Linked DNA regions of Homo sapiens: all the other regions are linked to region 3. The links are contacts of gene promoters, found by promoter capture Hi-C in human tissues and cell types (Jung and others, 2019). All regions are on one chromosome and are shown on one strand. Each heading gives the region's core, a stretch centred on a gene start or on the middle of the fragment in contact. The rest is flanking DNA. Distances are from core to core; before and after follow the strand shown. Region 1 overlaps DIP2B (disco interacting protein 2 homolog B). Region 2 overlaps DIP2B (disco interacting protein 2 homolog B). Region 3 holds the start of SLC11A2 (solute carrier family 11 member 2).

What was found. The method cuts DNA at HindIII sites, captures the fragments that hold promoters and counts their contacts. A contact is called where the count stands out against the background at its distance.
Region 1: a contact is called between a fragment that was not itself captured here and the fragment with the promoter of SLC11A2 in region 3, in 1 of the 25 tissues and cell types used here (hippocampus).
Region 2: a contact is called between a fragment that was not itself captured here and the fragment with the promoter of SLC11A2 in region 3, in 1 of the 25 tissues and cell types used here (IMR-90 fibroblasts).

The regions. Positions count from the first base shown.
Region 1 is chr12:50,713,553-50,716,482 of GRCh38, forward strand. DIP2B (disco interacting protein 2 homolog B) reads left to right here. Exons shown (of 38, transcript NM_173602.3): 23 at 843-1,044. Among named protein-coding and RNA genes, the nearest start is that of ATF1, 49 kb to the right of the region's middle. The HindIII fragment of the contact is 3,863 bases long and covers 1-2,930 here.
Region 2 is chr12:50,541,449-50,544,453 of GRCh38, forward strand. All of the region lies in intron 1 of DIP2B (disco interacting protein 2 homolog B), which reads left to right. Among named protein-coding and RNA genes, the nearest start is that of DIP2B, 38 kb to the left of the region's middle. The HindIII fragment of the contact is 6,729 bases long and covers 1-3,005 here.
Region 3 is chr12:51,024,845-51,027,906 of GRCh38, forward strand. SLC11A2 (solute carrier family 11 member 2) reads right to left here and starts at 1,540. Exons shown (of 16, transcript NM_000617.3): 1 at 1,466-1,540. RefSeq lists enhancers at 500-1,113, 1,114-1,725 and silencers at 1,131-1,190, 1,201-1,920. The HindIII fragment of the contact is 17,071 bases long and covers 1-3,062 here.

The DNA of each region.
Region 1 (2,930 bases), core at 372-2,871, 310 kb before region 3:
GCTTGTGGCCTCCAATGCTCGGTGTGCTATGGGCCTCACCCCAGATGTTTTTCAGAGGAGATGCATGGTAACATGGTGAATCACTTAAGTGGGGGCTCCTTTAGAGAGCTGCTGTTGTGTTCATAATAAAAATACCTTACTTCTGTTTAATTAGGCTTTGTTGGCTGATAGCTAAAAGATTAAAAGAACCAAAACAAATTTCTAGGTTTTTGACATTATCACTTAAGAGAGAACATATTGGCTGGGCATGGTATGACAGTAATCTCAGCACTTTGGGAGGCCAAGGTGGGAGCATCACTTGAGGCCATGAGTTCAAGACCAGCCTAGGCAGCACAGTGAGACCCCATCTCTCCAAAAACCTTAAAATTAAAAAAAAGAAAAGAAAAAAAATTATTTTAAATTAGCCAGACGCAGTGGTGCATCCCTGTAGTCCCAGCTTCTTGGGAGGTTGAGGCAGGAGGATCACTTGAGCTTAGGAATTTGGGGCTGTCATGGCTTGTGCCATTGCATTCCACCCCAGCTGACAGAATGAGACCCTGTCTCTAAAAAGAATAAAAACTTAAAAAGAGAACATACTGAGTTGCAAGTCAATATCCACCTTTGTCCATTTAGATTGTATCTTACCTCTCTTCTTTTAATCTCTGCCACAGCTGAAAGATGTGTATTATCTTAATGATTATCTTTAAATCTCTAGATATATGGAATCTTAGTGATCTGCCAGATTCTAGATCTAGAATGGGTAGAGTAAGAAAAATTGTAGCGTAAAATAATGGATTATACCAGGAATATGTCAAATGTAATAGAAGTGATCTCACTGAGTATTTTTGTTTGTATTTTTCTAGGCGATCGATAGCATTCATCAAGTGGGGGTTTATTGTCTTGCTCTGGTGCCAGCCAATACATTGCCAAAAACTCCACTAGGAGGAATCCATATATCTCAGACGAAACAACTCTTTCTGGAGGGATCACTGCATCCTTGCAACATCCTCATGTGCCCCCATACATGTGTGACAAACTTGCCAAAGCCCCGGCAAAAACAACCAGGTAATATGCTGGCTTCCAAGACCTGGCACTAAAATTCCAACTTCAAGAAGCTGGGTTCTCTCAGTGTGATTCTTTCTCTACAATTAGTTTACAAAGACTTTGGGAGGCCAAGGTGGGAGGGTCGTGTGAGCCCAGGAGCTCGAAAACAGCCTGGGCGACATGGTAAAATCCTGTCTCTACAAAAAAAAATGGAAAAAATTAGCCAGGCCCGGTGGTGCACACCTGTAGTCTCAGCTACTTCAGAGGCTGACAGAGGATGGCTTGAGCCTGGGAGGTTGCAGTAAACCGAGATTGCGCCATTGCACTCTAATCTGGGCGACAGAACCAGACCCTGTCTCAACAAAAAAGAAAGGGAAGATGGAAAAGGTGTGTTAAGGCAGCCCGGAGGCAAACATATCCTTGAGATGCTTTTGGAGCTATTGTAGAAAGAAAGAATGTGTTTGTTAGGACTAGTCTTGGCTGCAGGTTGCAGAAAAACATAAATTGCAGCTCAGGCAAGAAACAAGCATATTTTTGTCAGGTAAAAAAAGTTCAGAGCTAGGTAGTCCAAAGGCTAGGATAGTCACTCCTCAATCATGTTCTTCTAGCTTCCCATCTTTTTGCTCTGGTGTTTTGTCTGTCACCTCTTGTCATAGATACGCTACAGAACAAATAACCCTAAAACTCAGTGCCTTGAAGTAGCAAGCATTTACTTTTTACTCATGGAATGTGGATCTGCTTGGCTTGGCTGGGATCCACTGGACTTGACTTGGCTCCAGGCTTAGGTTGGGTTCAGAGCTGTTCCATGTGTCTCCTCATCATGGGACCAGCAGCTACCTGGGCCGTATTTTTTTCAAGGCAGATGGCAGAAGCAACAAAGCAAGCCAAGCCACATGAGCATATTTAAAGCTTCTGTTTGTGTCACATGTCCTAACATTTCATTGTCCTAAACAAGTGAGACCATGAAGTATACTTATCCCATCCAGCCATAACTAAGACAAGAAAGAAAGGAAGGATTGTGGGAAAATAAAATAATCGGCCACAGCCATCATTAGCAACTGCCCCAGGGCTCATTAGGCTCCCCAACCTCTACATCCCAGCCAGCAGGTAGGAGGAAAAGGTAAAGAAAGGATACTCTTCCCTTTAACATATTTTCTAGAAATTGCACATATTACTTCCTCTTACTTATTATCCTCCCACACTAAAGAATATAGTCTTTATTCCAGGCATGTGTCCAGCTAAAAACTGGGGGTTCTGTTATTAAGGAAGAAGAATAGGATACTGGAATTGATAACTAGCAGTTTTTGCCATAAGACGTTTACAGAATTTTATTGGAAAATCAGAAGGCATATTTACAGGTACAGCAGTGTCTGCAATTAGCTTCCTGGAGTTACTGCTTTCAGTATCTTTCATTCTCTGTGACCCACAGACCCATAGACTCACGAAATGCACACAGAAGAACATCCAGGAACTGCTGCTGAATTAGTTTTATTGTTTTAAACTACTGCAAAATTCACTTTTTAAAATATGCCTTTATTAATTTTATAATGTAAATCCCAGAATGCACAGTTTACATAAATACACTCTGAGTCCCTGCCTGTATTAAAAGGCTGTCTCCAACATGATATATCTATAATTTGTCATGAAGTTTCTTAGGGAGGAATATTGCATATTTACTTAAAATTGTAGTAGACACTTTGTAGACTAAAACTGTTCACCAATTGGAATACTTTATCTTTTTTGAGTTTTCTGTTTTATTTTTAAATTTTTTAAACTTTACATTTTGAAATAATTTCACACAAAAAAGTTGCCACATGTCGGGAGGCTGAGGCAGGAGAATGGCGTGAACCCGGGAGGCAGGAGAATGGCGTGAACCTGGGAGACGGAGCTTGCAGTGAGCCAAGATT
Region 2 (3,005 bases), core at 445-2,944, 480 kb before region 3:
TTGGGAGAACAGAGAAAGATAGACTAAGAGAAACAGAGATAGAAAATGTTTAATCCTGTATTGTGGCTTACTGTAGCTCTTCATATTCCCTTGAATTTTAGACTAGATTTCCTCCAAAATTCTGTGAACTTGGGGATATATATGATTGCCAGATGTCTGACACCTTTCTAGATTTGGAACTGTCTGGAATCTAATTTCTTCTGCTAACCCATAGTATATGAAAGAAAGTAACACACACACTATTAAGACAAACTAGAAAATATCATAAAGAGGCTGGATGCAGTGGCTCATGCCTGTAATCCCAGCACTTTGGGAGGCCGAGGTGGGTGGATCACTTGAGGCCGGGAATTGGAGACCAGTCTGGCAAACATGGCAAAACCCAGTCTACACTAAAAATACAAAAATTAGCCAGACGTGATGGCGTATGCCTGTAGTCCCAGCTGTTGGGGAGGCTGAGGCACGAGAATTGCTTGAACCCGGGAGGTGGAGGTTGCAGTGAGCCGAAATTGCGCCACTGCACTCCAGCCTAGGTGACAGAGACTCTGTCTCAAAAAAAAAAAGAGACCGGGCGCGGTGGCTCACGCCTGTAATCCCAGCACTTTGGGAGGCTGAGGTGGGCGGATCACGAGGTCAGGGATGGAGACCATCCTGGCTAACACAGTGAAACCCCATCTCTACTAAAAATACTACTTGGGAGGCTGAGGCAGGAGAATGGCGTGAACCCGGGAGGCAGAGCTTGCAGTGAGTCGAGATTTGGGCCACTGCACTCCAGCCTGGGTGACAGAGTGAGACTCCGTCTCAAAAAAAAAAAAAAAAAGAAAAAAAAGAAAAAAGAAAATCTCAAAATCTCATAAAGAGAATGGGAAAAGGCTGCATTTGTCTTGGAATTTATAAATGTATTCAAAAATTTTTTTCATCTTTGTTGATGCATATTTCTGTAATAGTTTTTTCCTGTCTTAATTTTCTCTCATAAAAGGAAAAGATTTGATATTCCTGAGTCATCACTCTCCTGAAATCTCAGTTTTACTCAGACCTGTGCTATATAGAGTATTATGTTCATGCCCATGTCTGATGTGGAGGGAGAGACACAGACAGGAGAGTGGGTGACTGACTCAGATGTAAATGATCTTATTATACTTGAGCTGCAACCACACCTAGAAACCTTGACAACAACAGGGCCTGTGTTTGATATATCTCACTTGTTAAATCCTGTCTGGATTTTAGTATGTCATATGTGTGTTCATCAGCAAAATTGAACAGGTGCTGGAACAATTGCAAAGCTTTAATCAGACTTATGATTACACTGTTTCTCGTTATGATTAAACTGTTTCTCATTTTGGCCAAAGAATATGACACAATAACTAAAACAAATTTCTAGTTGTTTCTTGTGTTGTTTATTCTGTTCAGAGGTTTCTTTTCTTTTTCTTTTTTATTTCTTAGACAAGGTCTCATTGTGTTGCCCAGGCTGGAGTGCAGTGGCACAGTCTTGGCTCATTGCACCCTCTGCTTCCCAACCTCAAGCTATCCTCCCACCTCAGCCTCCTAAGTAGCTGGGACTACAGATGTGTGCCACCATGCCTGGCTAATTTTTTTTTGGTCTTTTTTTGTAGAGATGGGGCTTCACCAAGTTGCCCAGGCTGGTCTCAAACTCCTGGGCTCAAGCGATTCACTCACCTCAGCTTCCCAAAGTGATGGGATTATAGGCGTGAGCCACCGTGCCTGTCCCAGAGGTGTCAATGCTACATATACATCCTCCACCAAGATAGAGTCATGGGTAAATTAATTAAGGTTAAGAGACAATTTCAATGTCTTATGCCAAGCTGTTAAAGTTTTTTTTTTTCCCCCTTTTTTATTTATTTTTGAGACAGAGTCTCGCTGTCACCTAGGCTGGAGTGCAGTGGCGCAATCTTGGCTCACCGCAACTTCCGCTCCCCAGGTTCAAGCAATTCTCCTGCCTCAGCCTCTCAAGTAGCTGGGGTTACAGCCACCCGCCATCACGCCAGCTAATTTTTGTATTTTTGGTAGAGAAGGGGTTTCGTCATGTTGGCCAGGCTGTTCTCGAACTCCTGACCTCAGGTGATCCGCCAGCCTCGGCCTCCCAAAGTGCTGGGATTACAAGCATGAGCCACCGCTCTCAGCCTATTAATGTTTCAAAAATAGCTTTTCCCTCATTATAAAAATAGCACATGTTGGGCCGGTCATGGTGTCTCACACTTGTAATCCCAGCACTTTGGGAGGCTGAGGTGGGAGGATCACTTGAGTCCAGGAGTTCGAGACCAGCCTGGCCAATGTGGATGAAACCCTGTCTCTACTAATAATACAAACATTAGCTGGGCATAGTGGCACACGCCTGTAGTCCCAGCTACTCAGGAGGCTGAGGCAGGAGAATCACTTGAGCCTGGGAGGCAGAGGTTGCAGTGAGCTGAGGTAGTGCCAATGAACTCCAGTCTGGGCGACAGAGTGAGACTCAGCCTTTAAAAAAAAAAAAAAAAAAAAGGAGGCTGGGCATGGTGGCTCACGCTTGTAATTCCAGCGCTTTGGGAGGAGGAGGCTGGCAGACCACGAGGTCAGGACATCGAGACCATCCTGGCCAACATGGTGAAACCTCGTCTCTACTAAAATACAAAAAATTAGCCAGGCGTGGTGGTTCGCGCCTGTAGTCCCAGTTGCTCAGGAGGCTGAGGCAGGGGAATCGCTTGAACCTGGGAGGCAGAGATTGCAGTGAGATCATGCCACTGCCACTCCAGCCTGGTGACAGAGTGAGACTCCATCTCAAAAAAAAAAAAGGAAATTAAAGAAGAAAATGAATATTTCCTTAATCCTAACACCCAAGTGTAAACACTAATGGTATTTAAGTAAATTCCCTTCCAGTCACTTTTCTATTCAGATATTCCGTCACTAGGGCTGGAGTGCAGTAGCACGGTCTCAGCTCACTGCAACCTCCGCCACCTGGGTTCAAGCGATTCTCCCGCGTCAGCCACCCAAATAGCTGGGATTGCAGGTGC
Region 3 (3,062 bases), core at 290-2,789:
GGCTACCCAGAAATTCCCCTCCCGAGTCCCACTGCCATTCCGGAAACATGAGAAACCAAGTATGCTGCAATCATGGCCTTTTTAGTACTGGCTCCAAAATAAACTGAGTAGGCCAAGCAAGACTGTCAATGAAATACTGTCCAATGAAAAAATAAACAGCCGAAGGTTTCAGGTTTCATTTACCCAACACAGGTATCACAATAAATGACCTAGTATAATGATAGTTTCCAACCGTATTTAATAAAACAAACACGCAGCAGAAATCCTCTAGTCACATATAACTACACTATACCCTCAGATCAAAGTTAATGATGTCAATGGAAAGTATAGGCCGGCGGGTTCACTGGTGATAAGTCATGAGACTCTGAGCAAAGAATAAGTAATAAGGTTAGAATTCTTTAGAAGTGTTAAGGGGAAAGAAGGTAACAACAACAAAAACTCCTCCACATCAAGAGTTCTAAGTACTTTGTTGTTTATTAACTAATTTCATACCAACAACCCTGTAAGACTGATATTATCAATCCCCATTTTAAGTACGTGGAACAAAAGAAGAAAGAGGCAAACAACATGCTCAAAGATTTACAAAGCCAAGAAATCATGCGAACTGGTGGGGCTTCGGGTTCCAGAAGTCAGTGTAAACATAGCTTCTCCATTTTTCACCAACAGTCACTAAAATTGAGGCCAGCAAGTTTTTAGAAGCCTATCTCCCCTTGCAAACTCTCCTTCCATATAATTTTTGCTTTTGCAAGAGATGTCACATTTAAGCGGTAGCTTTAAAAGTGGGGACACATGAAACGCACAGCTGGGAGAGCCATCCAGCCCACTTACATATGTGCAATATCCCCCTGTAGAAAAACCCTGCTCATTGGAGCCTGGAATCCAGAGGGTCCCTGAGAGCTACACAAACAGCCTTAAAACCAATCTACCCACAATTACTGAGCCGCGTATGCAGGCTATTCACACAGAAGGCGCTCCCTGAAGTCGGTTAGGTTATAATGAGTCTTTTGTTGAAGCGGGGCGGCGGGAGGCCCCGGAGAGCAGCCCGGCCCCCTGCGGCGCCGACGAAGAGGCCACGAAAGACCTTGCCCTGTGCCCGTCGGCCTCTTTCGAGGCGTCGAAGCAGGTCAGCGCACCCCGACACAGGCCGGGCGCGCCATCCGGTGCAGCTGGGAGCTGGGCCATGTGTCCTAGGCCGCGGCGGGGAAGGGGCGAGACCCCCGCGACCTCCGGCGTTCCCTCCCTGCCCCCATCTTTGGGTCTTTCTCTGAATGGCGCGACTCCATCAGTCCTGGACTCTGGGCCTGAGGCCCTCCCTGGCCACACCTCCCCTCACAGCCCCGCACGGCGAGCCGGTGTCGCATCCTAGCCCCGGAGCCTGACCCCCGACACAGGCCCTCGAGCCGCCCCGCGCCCCTCCCTGCCAGCGAGCGGAATGCCGTGACCCCTGACCTTGCCTTCCCCTCACCTTACCAGCTCCGCAACCACCTGACACGCCGCCCCCGCGCCCAGGGCTCCATATTCCGGGAGCCAGCGCCACGCTGGCTAACGCCCTCCCCTCCCCGCGATTGGTCGACAGGACGGCAGCCGCACATCCCTATTGGCTGGAGTCCCTGCAGCGGCCGGGATGCGTGGCCCGCAGACCAGGGACCTAGGCTCCGCCCACGCGGAGTCTGGATGCGGCGGCCCCTGGGGCACGCGGCGGCCCCTGGGGCACCCGGCGGGAGCTGCATGCTGCCTAGTTGCTGCTTGCGTTGGCCAGACCCACACAGCCCCTGGACTGGGGAGCTCCAGTCCGCTAGCAGTCTGGGGACAGATAAGATTCCTGCCCTAGTTCGCCGTGGCGCCACGTTAGGTACTGACAATCAAGCTACGAGGTATAGCTCTATCCTGTAAAGGGTAGCCAGGCCAGGCGCGGAGGCTCACACTTGTAATGCCCAGCACTTTGGGAGACCGAGGCGGGAGGATCACTTGAGTCCAGGAGTTCGATACCAGCCTGGGCAACATAGTGAGACCCGGTCTCTACAAAAAATTTTAAAATTAGCCAAGCAAAGGCCGGGCGCGGTGGCTCACGCCTGTACTCCCAGCACTTTGGAGGGCCCAGGCGGGCGAATCACCTGAGATCGGGAGTTTGAGACCAGCCTGACCAACATGGAGAAACCCCGTCTTTACTAAAAATACAAAATTAGCCGGGCGTGGTGGCGCATGCCTGTAATCCCAGCTACTCGGGAGGCTGAGGCAAGAGAATCGCTTGAACCCGGGAGGCGGAGGTGCAGTGAGCCGAGATCGCGCCATTGCACTCCAGCCTTGGAAACAAGAGCGAAAACTCCGTCTAAAAAAAAAAAAAAATTAGCCAGGCATCACGGCGCCCGCCTGTGGTCCCAGCTACTCGGGGGCTGAGGTGGGAGAATCACTTGGGCCTGGGAGGTGGAGGCTGCGGTGAGACAAGATCGTGCCACTGCACTCCAGCCTGGGTGGCAGAGCAAAACCCTGTCTCAAAAAAAAAGGATAGCCACCTGGAAGGAACATTTCCTCGCGCCCCCAGAGCCACATCATAGTATCTGCTGCCCCACCAAGAGCACCCCACACCTGGGAGGAACCGAGAAACATCAGCTAGTGCAGCCAGTTTGACCGCCTTAGGTGTCCTCCCAAGCCTCCGTAGTGAATTGTTTTCCTCCTCGCCCAGCTGACTCGATTCTCCCCAGACTTCATCCTACCTACCCAAAAGCAATCCCACTCTATCGCCAGTTTCAGCCTCACACCGTATCTTTTGCTCTGAAGATGAGACTGCCAAACTGGTGAAGAGGGAATAAATGGCCTAACAAATTACCGTAATTTTCTGCAATGTCGTTTACAGCCACCAAAAACATTAGATCCTCCCGCCACCCTCACTCCCCGACCCCTCGCACTGCTTACAGCATTAAAGGTAATTGAGCTTCTTTATTCACGTAAAAACAGCTAGGAGAAAATTTCATTAGTAAGAGAGACCAAGAAATGAGGAAAGGAGCGTGAACTGCAAAGAGAAAAATCCAAATAAAGTGCGAAGTAAAAACAAACTCGGGGAC